Regions from separate parts of the Homo sapiens genome. Here regions 1, 2, 3, 5 and 6 are each linked to region 4. The links are contacts of gene promoters, found by promoter capture Hi-C in blood cells and fetal thymus (Javierre and others, 2016). All regions are on one chromosome and are shown on one strand. Each heading gives the region's core, a stretch centred on a gene start or on the middle of the fragment in contact. The rest is flanking DNA. Distances are from core to core; before and after follow the strand shown. Region 1 has its middle 44 kb from the start of MIR4289. Region 2 has its middle 23 kb from the start of NXNL2. Region 3 has its middle 32 kb from the start of LINC02843. Region 4 holds the start of S1PR3 (sphingosine-1-phosphate receptor 3). Region 5 overlaps LINC02843 (long intergenic non-protein coding RNA 2843). Region 6 has its middle 22 kb from the start of LINC02843.

Region 1 (2,700 bases), core at 1-2,500, 290 kb before region 4:
TTTTACTTGTCCTCGCACCCCCATTGCTAAGAAGGAAATATGATTCTGGTTTGGCTTCTTTAAAATGCAGTGGCAGGCCAAGTGTGATGGCTCACACCTGAAATCCCAGTGCTTGGGGTGGCTGAGGCAGGAGGATGGCTTGAGGTCAGGAGGAGTTCAAGATCAGCCTGGGCACATAGTGAGATCTTGTCTCTACAAAAAAATGTTTAAAAATGCAGCGGCAACAGGCACAAAGTTTGGGTATGTCTGTGGGTTCACCAGGAGGCTGGCAGCTGTGGGTGAAGCTCAGAGACACAGCAGGCTCTCCAGCTGGACAGGGAAGCATAGCCATGGCTCTGCCATGGGCCTTGGAGACATTGCATGTCCACGTGGCTTAGGGTCCTGTGTGGAGTCTCTGGCCATCCCATAGGGAATCACAGGGCAGCCCCATGGCATTTGAAGCACACCAGAACCATCGCAGCTTCAAGGTGTTTCTATTGCTTCAAGGAACTTAATTCTGCCAACAACCACGAGAGCTTGGAGGAGGACCCCAAGCCTTGTGTGGGACCCAGCCCTGGCTAGTCCTTTGACTGCAATCTTGTGAGTCCCTATGCAGAGATTCCAGCCAAGCTTTACCCAGACCCCTGACCAACAGAAACTGTGACATAGTAAATGAGTGTTTTCTTTTTATTTATTTATTTATTTATTTTTTGAGACAGGGTCTCACTCTATCGCTCAGGTTGGAGTGCAGTGGCATGATCTCTGCTTGCTGCAACCTCCACCTCCTGGGTTCAAGTGATTTTCCCATCTCAGCCATCTGAGTAGCTGGGACTATAGGCATGTGCCACCATGCCCGGCTAATTTTTGTATTTTTAATAGAAATGGGGTTTCACCATGTTAACCAGACTGATCTTGAACTCCTGAGCTCAAGTTATCTTCCAGCCTCAGCCTCCCAAAATGCTGGGATTACAGATGTGAGCCACTGTGCCTTGCCATAAGTGAGTGTGTTAAACCACCAACTTTGTAGAAGTATGTTATGCAGTAATATAAAAATAATACAAATCCTAATTAACCATACAGCCTTGGCTGCTGATTGAGATTCCAGCATCCTCTAATTCATTTTTTGTTAAAGTTGGGAGTATGCACAAGCACTTGTCACCTGGTGGCATTGGTAAATACTGGATGGAGCTTGGCCATTTCCTGAAGGCATCAATTCTCACTCACTCTCTCTGTCTCTGCAAGCTAAAGGGGAGCCAGATTCTCTCTCACCTGCCTCCTGAAAGCTGGCGTGGGGTTAAAAATCTAGGCCAGGGCAGCTGGAAGCCCCCACCAGGGGTTCTTTATTAATGATGCAAAGATGCTGGGTAACTTAGAGACCGTTCCTGGGGGAGGTGGCTGAGGCAGGAGGGTGGCCTGGGGGTGGGGGGAGACTGTGGTGGTGGCAGTGATTCCTCCTGGAGACAGGAGACTCCTCTCACTGCTTGTGCCCTCAGCTACCCACCCCTTTCTGCTCCTGTTCTGCTTCTGAGCCTGGCTCTCCTGATCTCCCCTCAATTCCATGAGTTGCCTACTAGTCTTCCAGTACATTGCTGAAGTTAGCATCTGTCTGCCTCTAAGAACCCTTCCCAATTCAGCTGAGAAGTGCTGGCTCCTCTGCCCTCCTTACTTTTTCTCATGTCTCCTTACTTGGATAAGTATTGGGTTTCTCAGATTTGATCAATGACATCTCCATAAAGCTATCCAGTTGTTGTGTCTAAAATGAAGGCCAACTCAAAGCAGAAACTGTGTGATTTAGTGCTGCTGGGATAGGCGGTTCTCTTATCTAGGTCCCTGTGTGGCCTGGTACAGCTTGCCCAGACAGCCTGCTCTGATCATGCAGTGAGGAAAAGAAAAAGTCTTTTTTCTGCTTGAGAGAAGCTTCTTCCTTCTTTCTGCTTGAACTGTCATTGCTTCTTCTCCCTCTGTGGGGCTATATCTGAAGAATAGGTGATATTTTATATACAGAACAGCATGAGATTTCTCCAGAAGCAGAAGAATAGCAATGTCCTTAGTGTGGAGTGAACTAGCACCTGAGTGATATTCATTACAGAAATGCGTTTCCAGAAGGGACCAGAAATGTCCCCTTAATGGAAAGAAATTGCTGCTACGTTAGGATCAAAGATGAAAGGGGAAGGTAATGCGTGCTTAGAAGGAGAGCTTTCCATCTCACACACTGTTCGTGTTGGCTGCAGAACTGGAGGGTGTCACAGGCGTCTAATGGATATATGCTCCCTGGGCACCACACACTGGGCCCTTGACCACTGCTAGAGCATGGAGGAAGGGGTTTGGGGGGCATGATGAAGAAAACCTGACTTGTTGTATTCATTAGTGCTTCCATAAGTCAACTTTCGGTAAAAGGCTGCATAATAAATATGTTAAATGGACAAAAGATTTTTATGGGAGTATTTTATCACTGACATTATTTAGGTCTGTTGGCTCAGGATGTTAATAAAAAGAAGACCCATATGAAGTCACAATTCTGGTGAGTGGAATGAGCAGCCCAGGGGAGCAGAACCCACAGAAAATGTTCATTTTGACTGCGAAGTAGGTAATAGAGTTTATTTACCTCTAGGCTGGAAGCCAGAATGTAGACAAAAGGCATAACCCAGAAATGGACTTCGGAGTGGGTCATTAAGCCACAAATACAGCCCAGCCACTGAGTGAGGAAGAGCAAGGGCTGAA
Region 2 (2,700 bases), core at 118-2,617, 430 kb before region 4:
GGGTCTTGGGTTCTTGTCCAAGAAGAATGAGGTTACATGGACAAGCGGAGAGTCAGCAAGGCAGAGAAGAGTTTTATTGAGTGACAGAACAGTTTTTGACATGAGAGGGGACCCGAAGTGGGTAACCCATATCTGAAGGTGGGTAGTCCCAACATGTAGCTGAGTCCAGGGGTTTCATGGGCTCAGAATGGGGGAGTGTGTGCTGATTGGTCCATAAGCAGTCCTGGAAAAAGCACCATTTGACTGGCTATAAAAGCATCAAGGAAGTTCTCACTCAGGTCATGGACTCTACCTGGAGCTGGCTGCCTGGTTTTCAGGCTTCAGGCTGTCTATGGCTTGAAGATCAGGTTTCATTGGGGACCTGCCCCTGTCTGCCTAGGAATTTGTCTGCCTTCTACTGCTATCAACACTTTGGCTCATCAGATTGTTGTAATTATGCATTCAGCCTTCCATAGAAAGATGTTAGGCCAGGTGCAAGCGGCTCACACCTGTAATCCCAGCACTTTGGAAGGCCAAGGCAGGCGGATCATGAGCTCAGGAGGTCGAGACCATCCTGGCTAACACGGTGAAACCCCGTCTCTACTAAAAAATGCAAAAAAAAATTAGCTGGTTGTGGTTGCAGACCCCTGTAGTCCCAGCTACTCAGGAGGCTGAGACAGGAGAATCGCTTGAACCCGGGAGGCGGAGGTTGCAGTGAGCCAAGATCATGCCACTGCATTCCATCCTAGGTGACAGAGTGAGACTCCATCTCAAAAAAAAAAAAAAAAAAAAAAAAGAAAGATGTTGAAATTCTGTTAAGCTTCCCTAAGCTTTGTTCATACAAGCAATCCCAAACTTCTACTACACTTTGAAGCACAGATTTCCATTCTTTGGAATACATTCTTCCCAAGTGGGCTGTCCTCAACTTTGTACTGTTGGGATAAATTCTCTTTGAACTAGATTCTGAACCTTTTGATTATTTTAGGTTGACAATACTGTTGGGACATTGGCTTTAAAAGAGACCTGAGAAATCACAGGCTTGGGTGGCTTTCCTTTCATGCTGGGCATCAAATTTTCCAAATTTTCCTAGTGGAGGCTCCTGCACCAGAGTCAGGATTTCTGCAGAGATCACAGGGTGAGCACGTTCTTAAGGTAAACGTGAATTAAGCAAATGCACAAACATATGCACAAACAACTTTTGCTGTCAGAGTCATTCCAATTTGCAGAATCACTGGGCTTGAAATGACTTCCCTATACCCTGTGTTCAGGTGGAGTGGAGCCACCAACAGCTAAGACAGGAGGCAGGAATAGTCTAATTTCTGAACAACTGACCTTTGTCCAAAAATGAGCGCTGACTGGCAACCTTGGTTTACAATTGTGCTTTCCACCTCACACTACCCAGAGGAGGAGAATGGCAAAGCCCAGAAAACCAGCCAACCAGCAGCCACTCATCAGAATCCCTGCAGTCACTCAAGAATCTGCAGGTTAGATAGAGCATAATTTCCAGGAGGGATTATTTCACTCTCCTGTTTGAGCATACAGTTGGAATGAGGGGCCTTTGCTCTCTCTTTCCAGGAAATTTCCCCTGCAACAATTTTTCTGCCCTTGCTTCATTCAGCAGACATCACTGAGAACGTGTTCAGTGGGAATAGGATTGTGCCTCTGTGATACTGTGAAATATATATTTGGGCTTCATCTGTTTCCTGGCACATGGCTCATAAAACACTTGGAATCTCCAGAGTGATGAGTCTTTTGTATGTCAATGAAATGACTGCTGGTTGGGGGCCCCTGAATAGCCTCAGGATGGGGCTGGTTCCCAGGGGAACCAACCATGTGGTCAGAGGGTTGGAACTTTCAGCTCCGATGGGACCTCCTGGGAGGGAAGAGGGGCTGAAGATTGAGTTGACCACCAATGGCCAATGATGTCATCAGTCATGCCTACATAATAAAGCTTCCATGAAACCCCAAAAGAGCAGAGTTTGGGGAGTTTCTGGCTAGCTGAACACGTAGAGATTCCTGGAGGGTGGTGTTCCCGGAGAGGGCATGGAAGCTCCATACCCCTTCTCTCATATGCATCTCCCTAAGCATCTCTTCATCCTCAGACATCCTTACATAATCTGTATCCTTTTTCATATATTTTATAATAAATGGATAGATGTAAGTGAAGTGTTTCCTTGATTTCTGTGAGCTCCTGTAGCAAATTAAACAAACTTAAGGAGAGGGTCATGGGAACCCCTATGTATAGCCACTGGGTCAAAAGCACAGGTTAAACAACCTGGGGCTTGGTTGGTGTCTGAAGTAGAAGAGGCCGTCTTGTGGGACTGATCCCTTAACCTGTGGGATATGACCCTACATATCCCAACCTGCCTGCTAACTATAGGCAGGTTGTGTCAAAATGGAATCGAATTATAAGACTCCCAGCTGGTGTCCACTGGAGAACTGGTTGATGTGTAGGGAAAACCCCCACACATCTAATGTCAGAAGTGAGTGGTGAGTGGTAGTGAGAATAGGAGAAATACCTTGGTTTTTCCTGTCTCTTAGCCTCCTTCTACCTGTAGGGGCTTAGGTCTCAAGGGGAGAGATGGCAGGTGGAGATAGTCCCCTCTGATCCCAGGTGGCAGGTCCATCAGCACTGATGTGGTCCCTGTCCCCATCTTTCCCCTTATGGCACCCAGCACTCAACCTCCCTTAAGCTCTCCATGCTGAGCAAATAGATGTCTC
Region 3 (2,700 bases), core at 191-2,690, 370 kb before region 4:
GTTGGTCAGGCAGGTCTCAAACTCCTGACTTTGTGATCCGCCCGCCTCAGGCTCCCAAAGTGCTGGGATTACAGGCGTGAGCCACTGCGACTGGCCTTAATTGCTTTTTAAAAACTTCCTTAATGACATATAATGTTGGACATATTTTCATATGCTTATTTGCTATCTGTGTATCTTCTTCAGTGAAGTGTCTGTTCAGATCTGTGGCCTAATTTTCAGTTGGGTTGTTTATTGTCTCATTATTGAGTTTAAGAGGCCTTTGTATACTTTGGATACCAGTCCTTTAACAGATATATGTTTTGCAAATGTTTTTTCTAGTCTGTGATTTTTTTTATTGTCATGATCTTTTGCAAAGCTTATATTTTTGATTTTACTGAAGTCCAACTTATCAATGTTCTCTTTCATGGATTGTGTCTTTGGTGTGGCATCTAAACACTAAATCCAAGGACACTTAGGTTTTCTTCTATATTACCTTCTAGGAATTTTATAATTTAGCATTTTACAATTAGGCCTATGATCCATTTTGAGTTAATTTTTGTAAAAAGTGTAAGGCCTATGTCTGGATCCTTATTTTTCCTGTGAATGTCCTATTGTTTCAACCTAATTTGTTGAAAACACTATCCTTTCTTCACTGAAATGTTTTTGCTCCTTTGTTAAAGATCAGATGACTGTATTTACGTGGGTCTGTTTCTGGGATCTGGATTCTGTTCCACTGATCTATTTATTTCTTCTTCTGCCAATACCATATTGTTTTTATTACTTTAGCTTTATAGTAAGTCTTGAAATTAGTTTGTGTCCTTCAGCTTTGCTGTTTTATAATATTGTCTTGGCTATTCTGGGTCTCTTGCCCCTCCATATAAACTTTAGAGTCTTATTGTTATTATCCACACAATAGCTTGCTGAGATTGTAATTGGGATTATGTTGAATCTATAGATCAGTTGGGAAGAACTGACATTTTGACAATATTAAATCTTTCTATTTATGTACATGAAATATCTCTCCATTTATTTAGGTATTCTTTGACTTTCATCATAGTTTTGTAGTTTTTGTGCAATTCATATAGGTCTTGTACATATTTTGTTAGGTTTTGTTTTGAAAGCCCCTAGCTAAATTGGTGTTCCAGTACCACAGTGGCTAGTAACTCTACCCTAACAAGAAATGAAGGGTAGTAGATGGGGGTGTTTATAGTGTGCCTTTCATGCGATACTTATTTTACCTGGTAGACAGCCTAATGCCTCATTTTCTGACCTATGAACAGTGTCCCTCACACAGGAAACTTGTTTACCTTAGCAGATGACCTTGTGGTTCTTGTTTGACCTTGTCCAATTTATGCCTACCTGACTATTGCTTTGGTGCTGCGAGCCCAACCTTGTGTTCTCCTCAGTTTCCCATGGAAAACCCAGCCTGGGGTAGCCCTTGGTTCTTCAGATGGAAGGCACAAATTCAGATTGAAGGCTCATCTGCTTAAAGGAAGCAGCAGAAAAAACAGAGAGCCCAGGCTGCTAGGCAGGAGAGATACCTATAAGTTTTTATCTCTGGCCACTGGCTTGAGCAATTTGAGTGTGGTGTTCTATTTCTAATGCCTAAACATGGCAACCTTTGCTGTGCCATTTCCATTACAGATTTATACCCAAGGACTTCACTTTTTGATGATAATAAAAACAATATTGTGTTTTTAATATTCAATTTCAGTGTTCATTGTTGCTATGTAAGAAAGCAATTAACTTTTAAAAAAAATTATTACCTTGCATTCTGCAACTTGCCTGTAGGTTAATTCTCCTGTGGATCCTTGGCTGAGGAAAGCTGTGATGAGAAAGCCCTGGGAACTGAATTAGGTCTTCTGAGACTTCTGAGCCAGTCATTCATTCAACAGAAAATTATTTACCACTTCTCTATGACAAGGTACTGTGGGAGGCTATGGATGAAGGATTCCTACCCTGGAGAGGTGAATAGCACCATAGGCATTGCTAACGTCAAGTTTGCGCACGCTATCAGAGGGGAAGAGAAAGAATTTCCAGGTATGAGGGAAGACTCTTCTTCCTCTTAGATGTCTCACTAAGAGGAGAGCATAGTGGCCCCAGAAAATTAAGCTGACTGGGTGCCACTAGGAAGATATTTTCCTAGTCTGTATTTTCCAGGGCAGAACATTAAAAATTGTTTTCCTCCAATATATATTTTTATGGAAGACAAAGATCAGAATTATAATGACCAGAAGAGATGGTGAATTAGAATGAATCTCATCTTCAGTGCTATTGATTTTGTTCAGGAAGCTAACCTCCAGATAAGGGTCACAGTATGCCTTGGTAAGACATTGGAAATATCAATTCATTTAATGAGACACACAAGTTAGGAATAATTATGAAAATATATTTGCATAATGTGAAATAATCTTAAGTGCATGTGAAAATACATTCAAAATGCCACAAAGTATTAACTGAACATATTGTCTGTGTAGGTTTTTTTCTACTAGTCATTTGTTCTTTATTCATTTTGTTTTCTACCAGTTCTCAGTGGATAATTGGTACCAAGCTTCTAAATTTAAGAAAAATTTAGGAGAGAAAAACTTAAAATAAAGAAAATTTTATCCATATTGTATATGTATGAGTACTTGGTAAGAAATTGGCATAATTTAATTTTAGCAGCAGGACACCTTGTTCAGGATAGAGAGAAAGGGCTTTATTTGAAAACTACTAATCTGA
Region 4 (2,700 bases), core at 166-2,665:
AACAAGTTGGAAGGCTACAGTGCCGGAAGACTCCACAGTAGCACAGGCGAAGTGGCTTAGGCGAAAACGCTGGGAAGTACCCCAGCTCCCGGGGGCCAGAGCCTCTAGGGCTGGCAGCCTCAGCAGGCAGAGTCACTTGCCTCCTTCAGCTCAATTGCTGAGGGCTTGCGTTTCTCTGCAGGGAACAGGAGTGCCGCCGACTTCCACTCTTGGTGCCCTTCACCGCTCAAACTGCACCCCAAATAAGCGTATGCACCCTGCTCCAAGAGAAGGATGCGCTGGGCTGATCCTCTGGAGGCAAGAGGGCAAAAGACAGAAAGTAACGAGCGGCCTTTGCACAAACTCAACTCTCTGCAGCGGCCCCTGCGGCCCAATCCTGCCGGCCCAGGAATGCACGGTCGGATAACAGGCCTCTCCTTGCTTTTTCGTCTTCTTCCTCCCGCTTCTCTCCTCTCTCCTTTTCCTCCTCCTCCTTTTTCTTTAATTTTCTCCTTTCTCCCCAAGCTTCTACAGTTGTTTCTGTGTTCGCTCAATCATGGCCTTTGGCATTGATTGAAAATTTGGCAGTTCCTTCTCTCGGAATTCTGTTTGAAGCCTTCATATGGATTTATTATTATTATTATTATTTTTGCCACACAAAAGGGGCAAATCCGCGTGAGGAAGGGGGTCGCATGGGGGTCGGCTGAGATCTGCTGGCTGCCGGTCTAGGAGGGGCGCTGCTCTGTGCCGGAGTGGGCTCTGGTGCACCAGCAGAGGCTGGGGGAGAGTGCTGCCCCCGCCTGGAGCCCAAGTCTCTGCGTGCCTGGGGGTAGAGCGCGGAGAGGGACCAGGCAGGCGCCGGAGGGGACCCGCGCGGAAAAGGAAGAAGCCCAAACAAAAACGCTGTCCGGCGCCAGGCGCCCACCTGCAAGCCCAAGCCGGTGCTCGGCCAGTTACAAAAGAAATGGTCAGGATCTGGACAACGATAATGATAGTATTAATCCTCCTATTAAGAATCGGCCCAAACAAACCCTCGCTGTCAGGGCGACAGGCGCCCGCCCAAGCCCAGACCTCGGACCTGGTTCCAAGCCTGTTCCCGCTGGGTCTCTGGGCGCCCGGTTTCTGCACCTGGAGCTCGCCCGATGAGGACAAGGTCTGGAGGCCGGCCTGGGAACAGGGGCCGAAGGGCGAGCCGGACCCTAGGGGATTGGTAGGGTCGGGGAGAAGGGGTCCAGGCTAGGGGCGGGCGGGGCGCACGGAGACCAGGCGGCTTGAGCGGGAGGTGGGGAGCTGGAGGAGTGCCGGGTTCGCGGGCGGGGGACGGGGAGAGGGGGGCGGGGAGAGGGGCGGGAGTCGGGGGCGGCGAGGGGAGGGGCGGAGCGCGGGTCCCGCCCCGGCGGGCCGCTGGAAAAGTTTAGTCTCTGACTCGCTCGGGCAGAGGCCGAGGAAGCCGGTTCCGGGGACGGGCAACAGGGACTCAGGGACCAGAAGGCGGCTGCAGGACGCGACCGAGCAGGACCCCAGGCCCGGGAACGACGTCGCGAGCGCTGAGACTGCCGGGCCTCCCAGCCCATCTGGCATTCGAGCGCAGGACCGGGCGCCCCGGCACCGCCGCGCGCCACCCGCTAGGATGCCGGTGGCCCCAGCGCCCTCAGCCGACGGAGGTGAGAGGCGGGCCCGGGCGGGGCGCGGAACCAGGGTGGGGGGCTGGGGGCCGAAGGACCCACCTTTCCAACAAAATCCCCACCGATCCCGGGCGCGACGGGGACTTGGGCGCGCCACGGCGGCCGGAGCGCTCCACATCAGCACCCCTCCCCCAGAGCCGCTGCAGGAACAGGGAGGAGGCCTTTTCCACCGCACCCGGAGCGTTTACAACGGGCTGGAGCTGAATACCTGGATGAAAGTGGAGAGGCTGTTCGTGGAGAAGTTCCATCAGTCGTTTTCCTTGGACAATTAACAAGTTAGGCTTCCACAGTGCCAGGGCCTGGGGATGCTGGACGTGGGAGAGGGTTGTGGTCGTTAGCCTGGGAAAATCATTCTTTTAAACAATATTCGCCGGAAAATTAGTTTTTTCCTAACATTTCTCAAACAAGGCAATTAGGGCCGTCAGAATCGGTGCTGGAAGACGAAGTCCCCACAGTGCAATAATGAGGTTCCCACGGAAAATCAGTACGTTGTGTTCGTAACTGAGATAACAGCTAGAGAAGGGGCTTTGGGCTTTTTGAGTCTCCCAATAGTCAGTCTCTCTCTCTCTCTCTCTCTCTCTCTTCCTCTGACTTTCTGGCTTTGGACACTCCCAATGGTATATTTCTTTGTGGTGTTTTTATATTTGGATATAAGAGAGGAACTTCTTGTTGGATTTTTAAGGGAACACACTTCGTTTTGACCCTTCCAATAAGGAAAGGGGAGCTACAGGAACAGAGAGCTCTTTAGAAGGTTACTTTTAAATGGAGGCCCCCCCATTCATGGTACCCACTCCCACTTGGACCTCTGAGACCTCCAGAATTAGGCATCATTCTAAAATCTGGACATTAGAAGTCACAGACTTTGTATATAACCACATATTCATAATTTATCTTTTCAATGTTTTTTATTCATAGATGAAAATCTTGCAGGCATAGTTAAGAAAAATATAATTCCTAGAAAGTACAAGGGAAGGATTATGCTCTGCAGATACATGACTAACAAGGATAGCTGGCCATGCCCAGGGCTGGTGTTGGT
Region 5 (2,700 bases), core at 159-2,658, 340 kb before region 4:
TCTCCCAGGGTTTCCACATCACAATCCACCCAGCACGAGCACTGCTCAATGTTCCTGGACAAGAAGGTATCATCTCACAAAATTATTCATGCAAATAGAATCACTTGACTATCCCACCTGCTCACCCGATTTTCCTTTATAGTTTGAATCCTGGCTGAGTCCCAAGAAGGACCCTGTTATACAACTAGCACATTCTTAGTTTTGAGCACTCTGTGTTCTGTAACTTCTTGCATTATAAACCAAACTAACATGATTTTCTGCCTCCCCTGATTTCACTGGTGCCGTCATCATTCATCGAGAGGTTGATTTGCAAAGCTTTTCTCTGGACACATGGAGAAGATGACACGCTGGCCAGCCACAGGGAAGCATGTCCCGTGTCTGCCACTCATATAAGCTCTTCAATATATTGTCTCTGTTTATCATCACATATACATAATGAGTTATCATCTCTCCTGTTTTGTAGCTGATGAACACATTTCCAGGTCTCAGCAGTGAGTAAGGGGTTGGATTAAGCACCATGCTTTTCACTGCTATTCCTTGCTGTCTTCCTGCTCTGAGTTTATCTGAAACACAAAGGAGAGAGAATAAGTGTCTACACTGTGGTTTTCCAAACTGACCTCCTTCAATGTACCTAAGAAAGAAGAAAGAGTAATCATCTTATTATCAGAAAATGATTCTAACTATTGAGCTGCTGATATGTATTATGAACACAAATCTCAGCCCCCAAACTCAGATGTGTAGGTTTTTAAAAAATCACCTGTAATTCAACTTAGTATCTACTTCAGGCCTCATTCCCCTGAGCTGGTGGAGCAGGGTAGTTCCATCTCTTTTGGGGTCCCCTCACTGTGGAGGTGGGTGAAATTTGTGGGGCTTGTGTAGTGACCCACTCTCAAGGTGGTGGTTGGTGCCCAGTTGATCTTTGTCATCTCTATACACAGGTAATAACTTGGTCTTGGTCTTAGTCATTGTCCTGGGATGGGGTGTAAAAACATGTGTTGTTTTATGCCCCGCATTCAGGCACACCAGTCTTTCCAAGGATGGCAAGACAGGCAGGCTTCCATGCGGCCAGGGCTTTGCTATTTCTCTGTAGGTTGCTGGAAGGCCTGCACAGCCATGGCTCCTTCACCAGAGCAGCTCCCCTGCATCCACCCAAACCACTCTCCACAAAAGCCAGAAAGCCTGGAAGCAATGAGACCAAAATGGTCCCTCTGCTCGAGTAGGAGGAAAAAAGCAAAGTGAAAACCTACCCAGCCACATAAATTAAAATTTTTCCAATTATTATAAAATGCTTTTCTTCCTCCCTCTTTCTCTTTATCTGTGCATACTCTTGGGGTTTAGCTCTCTTCTAGAAACTTTCCCTAATTGCTATGGTGCCAGAAATATTCTTTTCTCTGAACTTCCATTTTTCAATTAACATCTGACACATCTTTTATTAGCTTAAAAAAAAGTTAGTGTCTTGTCTCCCTAACAGATTGTGCTCCCCTAGGTCTGGGGCTGTGTCCAACTTCTTTATCCGCCCCCCCCTTTTTTTTCAATACCTAAACAGTGCTAGGTATAGGGAGTAGCCTAAAGAAAAGTGTGTTGAATGTTTAAATTACTAAATAGGTACATGTTCAAATGCACAAATAGGCTACACGTTGTATTATTTGATTTTTTTCAAATAATACAAGAGTGTATAAAGTCATTTCCAATTCCTTCTTTATCACTGGAAATATTCTTTAATCTGAAATCAACTTTGTCTGATATTAATATAGCCACTTCAGTCTTTTTTTTTTTTTGAGACAGAGTCTCCCTCTGTCACCCAGGCTGGGGTGCAGTGGCGTCATCTTGGCTCACTGCAGCCTCTGCCTCCCAGGTTCAAGTGATTCTCCTGCCTCAGCCTCCTGAGTAGCTGGGATTACAGGCACTCATCACCATGCCTGGCTAATTTTTGTATTTTTAGTAGAGATGGGGTTTCACCACATTGGCCAGTCTGGTCTTGAACACCTGACCTCAAGTCGTCCGCCTGCCTTGGCTTCCCAAATTGCTGGGTTTACAGGTGTGAGCACTGCCCCCGGCCATCCAGTCTTTTTTTGAGAAGGGTTAGCACAGTGTATCGTTGTTGAACATTTTAATTTTAATCAGTTTGTCTATTTATATTTAAAGAGAATTTCTTGTGTTTATTAGGTCTTGTTTTTTTGATTCAATATGACAATCTCTGACTTTTTATTGTGGTGTTTAAACCGTTTATACTTAATATGATTATTGCTGTGGTTAGGTCTAAGTATCTCCTCCTGCTATTTGCTTTCTATTTGTAACGTTTATTCTGTGTTACCCTTTTCCTCTATTTTTGCCTTTTTAAAAGTTAATTGAAAATTTTTATGATTCCATTTTATCTTCTTTGTTGGATTTTAGCTGTAACTCCTTGTTTTGTTCTTTTACTAGTTGTTATAGGGTTTAAAATATTTAACTTAATATAGTCTACCTTCAAGTCATATTATACAGGTTCACTGACAGTATAAGAAGCTTAAATAATATACTTCTATTTGCCCTTTTCCACCTATATAGTCTTTATGGTTTTGTTGTCATACATTCACTTTTATGTATGTTACGAACTCCATAGTACATTGGTATTACTCTTGATTAAACAATTATATTTTCAAAAGATTTAAATTCTAAAGTATATATATTTACCAATGTATTTAATAGTTATCATTTCTG
Region 6 (2,700 bases), core at 49-2,548, 320 kb before region 4:
TGTGTATTGTTTGGTGTGTGTGGGGTATGTATGGTGTGTATTTGTGCGGTGTGTGTACTGTGTGGTCTGTATGTGGTGTGTGGGGTGTGTGGGGGTATGTATGGTGTTTATGTGTGTGGTGTATGTAGTGTGTAGTCTGTGCTTATCGTGTGTGGTGTATGAGGTGTGTGGGGGTTATGTATAGTGTATGTGTGTGTCGTCTGGTGTGTGTGGTGTGTGGGGTACATATGGTGTGTATGTGTGTGGTGTATGCAGTGTGTGGTCTGTGTATATTGTGTGTGGTGTATGGGGTGTGTGGGGTATTTATATTGTATGTGTGTGGTGTGGTGTGTGTATTGTGTGTGGGATGTGTATGATGTGTGTGTGGTGTGGTGTGTGCAGCGTTTGGTTTGTGTATTGTGTGTGGTGTATGGGTGTGTGTGGGATATGTATAGTGTATGTGTGTGGTGTGGTGAGTGTAGTGTGTGTGGTGTGTGGGATGTGTGGCGGGTATGTATGGTGTGTAGTGTGTGGTGCGTGTAGTGTGTGATCTGTGTGTATTGTGTGTGGTGTATGGGGGGTGTGGGGGGTATGTATAGTGTATGTGTGTGGTGTGGTGTATTGTGTGTACTGTGTGTGGTGTGTGGTGTGTGCGTGGGTGTGTATGGCATGTGTGTGTGGTGTGAAGTGTCCAGTGTTTGGTCTGTGTTTATTGTGTGTGGGGTGTGGGGTGTGTATGGTGTGTGCGTGTGGTGCAGTGTGTGTAGTGTGTGGTCTGTGTGTGGTGTATGGGGTGTGTGTGGGGGTATATATGGTGTGTGTGTGGTATGGTATATATGTGTATATGTGGTGCGTAGTATGCGTGTATGTTCCACACCAGACTTGAGGAGATTGTTTACCAGGCTCTCCCTGGCAAACACCCCAGGAGGCTGCAGGCGGAGGGATGGGTTTCCAGGGACAGAAGCGGCAGCTCTCACTGCAGGAGGCGCCATTTCCTGAGACCAGAGAAGCCAGGTTGTGTGGGAGAAGCCATCTTGGGGAAGGCCCAGCTCCTCACCAACTTGGGAGGATGTCGCTTCACCCCATGGCCTATCCTGGCTGGGAAGGAGAGCATCCCAGCAGTCAGGAGTGTGGACAGAAAAATGAAAAAGCTTTCAGAATATTCTACTCGGCATTAGGGCCCCAGGACCGTGTAGAGCTGGGAGGAGGTTCCTATAATGCTGGAGGTTGAATTTTCATCAACTGAGTGGGATGCAGATTCTGACTCAGATTTCATTTGCTTTTTGGGAAAATAATAGACACTTCTTGTATTCCCACGTTAATGTTTGCAAGTTCATTTTCACTACATGGAAAGAACATATCGTAGGCATATCTTACTAATGTATCCAAGGCATTAACACACAAAAAGATGCAGATGAATAAAATGATTTTAGCTCAGCAAGCAAATGGGTAAATGGGTACCAGAACACTAAACAACGAAGTTTGGGTGAAGCTTTGCATCTGGTTCCTATTAACCAAATTTGAGACAAAATATGCATTCCAAGTTTCCTGCCACTTAATTTAAAAAGCAATTTGGATTCAGGGGTCTCAGCTGAAGCTTGGTTTCAGCAATCCCATAGGCATTGAAACCACAAGCAGCCATAATGAGCCAGGCAGGCTCATAATTTCTTTCCCATATTGTAAAAGCAGTAACAACCACCTCTCAGAATATTTGGAAAATAGACAGTCGTCTCTCAAATCTCCTTCCAAATATAACTTTTAGCACTTTATGGGACATTCTTTCAGTATTGTTCTTGTGAAAATGGAAAGGATGTTATGTATATATTTGTGTGTGTGTATATATGACACATACACACATATATACACACATTTGTATTTATATTAGTATGAAAACACTCATACAATAGAAAATGGGGTGTACCATCTTTTAAGTTTTTTTTTTTTTATGTTGTAACATGGACATCATGACCCTTGTTTTTCTTCTTGCTTATAGATGTATAAGATGCTTCAGATGTATATCCTAGTTCCTAAACTATCTTCTGTGGCAGGTCATCAGGATGCCACTGATTTTTTGCTACTGGAAATAATGGTGTAGTCAAAACCTTTGTGCAGAAAGCTGTCAGTCAGAGGCAGGAACTTCTGAGGCTCAATGTTTTCCTTATGTCACCAAATCGCTTTCTAAAGGGCTGTGCCATTGTGCATCCAGCAGAGCCTATTTCACATACCTGTATCAGCTCTGTCCACCTTACTCTGAGGGTGCCTGGAAGATTCCGCTGCCTCTCCTCTTGCAGGACTACTGAGGGAGACTCGGGGCACCAACCCAGGCCATGGTTTTCCTCTGATGTTCAGTGTGCTGTCACCTTTGATAGTCTTAATTGGAAATAGAGACAAAAGCCCTTGGACCACAGCTTCCCCTTAACCTCCCATGATGGTCAGATTTCTGTGTCATCTTAACTGGCCACAGCCCCCAATTACCTAATCGAACACTGGCCTAGGTGTTGCTGTGAAAGTATTATGCAGATATGATTAAAGTTCATCATCGGCTAATTTAAGTAAGGGAGATTATCGTAGATGATCTGGGTGGGCCTGGTTCAATCAGTCAGAAGGCCTCAAGGGCAGAGTGAAGGCTTCCCTGAGGAGGAAGAAATTCTGCCCGTGGACAGCAGCCTCCACCCATGCCCATTCCAGCTTGGCCTTCCACAATGCTTCCAGATGGATTTG

What was found. The method cuts DNA at HindIII sites, captures the fragments that hold promoters and counts their contacts. A CHiCAGO score of 5 or more calls a contact.
Region 1: a fragment that was not itself captured here is called in contact with the fragment with the promoter of S1PR3 in region 4 in 1 of 17 cell types (endothelial precursors); the score reaches 5.6 in endothelial precursors.
Region 2: a fragment that was not itself captured here is called in contact with the fragment with the promoter of S1PR3 in region 4 in 1 of 17 cell types (naive B cells); the score reaches 5.8 in naive B cells.
Region 3: a contact is called between a fragment that was not itself captured here and the fragment with the promoter of S1PR3 in region 4, in 4 of 17 cell types (M0 macrophages, naive CD4 T cells, naive B cells and 1 more). The highest score is 7.8, in M0 macrophages.
Region 5: a fragment that was not itself captured here is called in contact with the fragment with the promoter of S1PR3 in region 4 in 2 of 17 cell types (M2 macrophages and naive B cells); the score reaches 5.8 in M2 macrophages.
Region 6: a contact is called between a fragment that was not itself captured here and the fragment with the promoter of S1PR3 in region 4, in 1 of 17 cell types (endothelial precursors). The highest score is 5.1, in endothelial precursors.

Annotation. Positions count from the first base shown.
Region 1 is chr9:88,700,544-88,703,243 of GRCh38, forward strand. No RefSeq gene overlaps it. Among named protein-coding and RNA genes, the nearest start is that of MIR4289, 44 kb to the right of the region's middle. The HindIII fragment of the contact is 1,287 bases long and covers 608-1,894 here.
Region 2 is chr9:88,556,330-88,559,029 of GRCh38, forward strand. It overlaps a transcript of NXNL2 not described here. Among named protein-coding and RNA genes, the nearest start is that of NXNL2, 23 kb to the left of the region's middle. The HindIII fragment of the contact is 1,121 bases long and covers 808-1,928 here.
Region 3 is chr9:88,618,850-88,621,549 of GRCh38, forward strand. No RefSeq gene overlaps it. Among named protein-coding and RNA genes, the nearest start is that of LINC02843, 32 kb to the right of the region's middle. The HindIII fragment of the contact is 2,175 bases long and covers 354-2,528 here.
Region 4 is chr9:88,990,053-88,992,752 of GRCh38, forward strand. S1PR3 (sphingosine-1-phosphate receptor 3) reads left to right here and starts at 1,416. Exons shown (of 2, transcript NM_005226.4): 1 at 1,416-1,643. RefSeq lists a silencer at 962-1,256. The HindIII fragment of the contact is 3,077 bases long and covers 503-2,700 here.
Region 5 is chr9:88,647,098-88,649,797 of GRCh38, forward strand. It overlaps LINC02843 (long intergenic non-protein coding RNA 2843), which reads right to left. Exons shown (of 4, transcript NR_144626.1): 2 at 1-563. Among named protein-coding and RNA genes, the nearest start is that of LINC02843, 3.7 kb to the right of the region's middle. The HindIII fragment of the contact is 2,190 bases long and covers 314-2,503 here.
Region 6 is chr9:88,672,529-88,675,228 of GRCh38, forward strand. No RefSeq gene overlaps it. Among named protein-coding and RNA genes, the nearest start is that of LINC02843, 22 kb to the left of the region's middle. The HindIII fragment of the contact is 341 bases long and covers 1,129-1,469 here.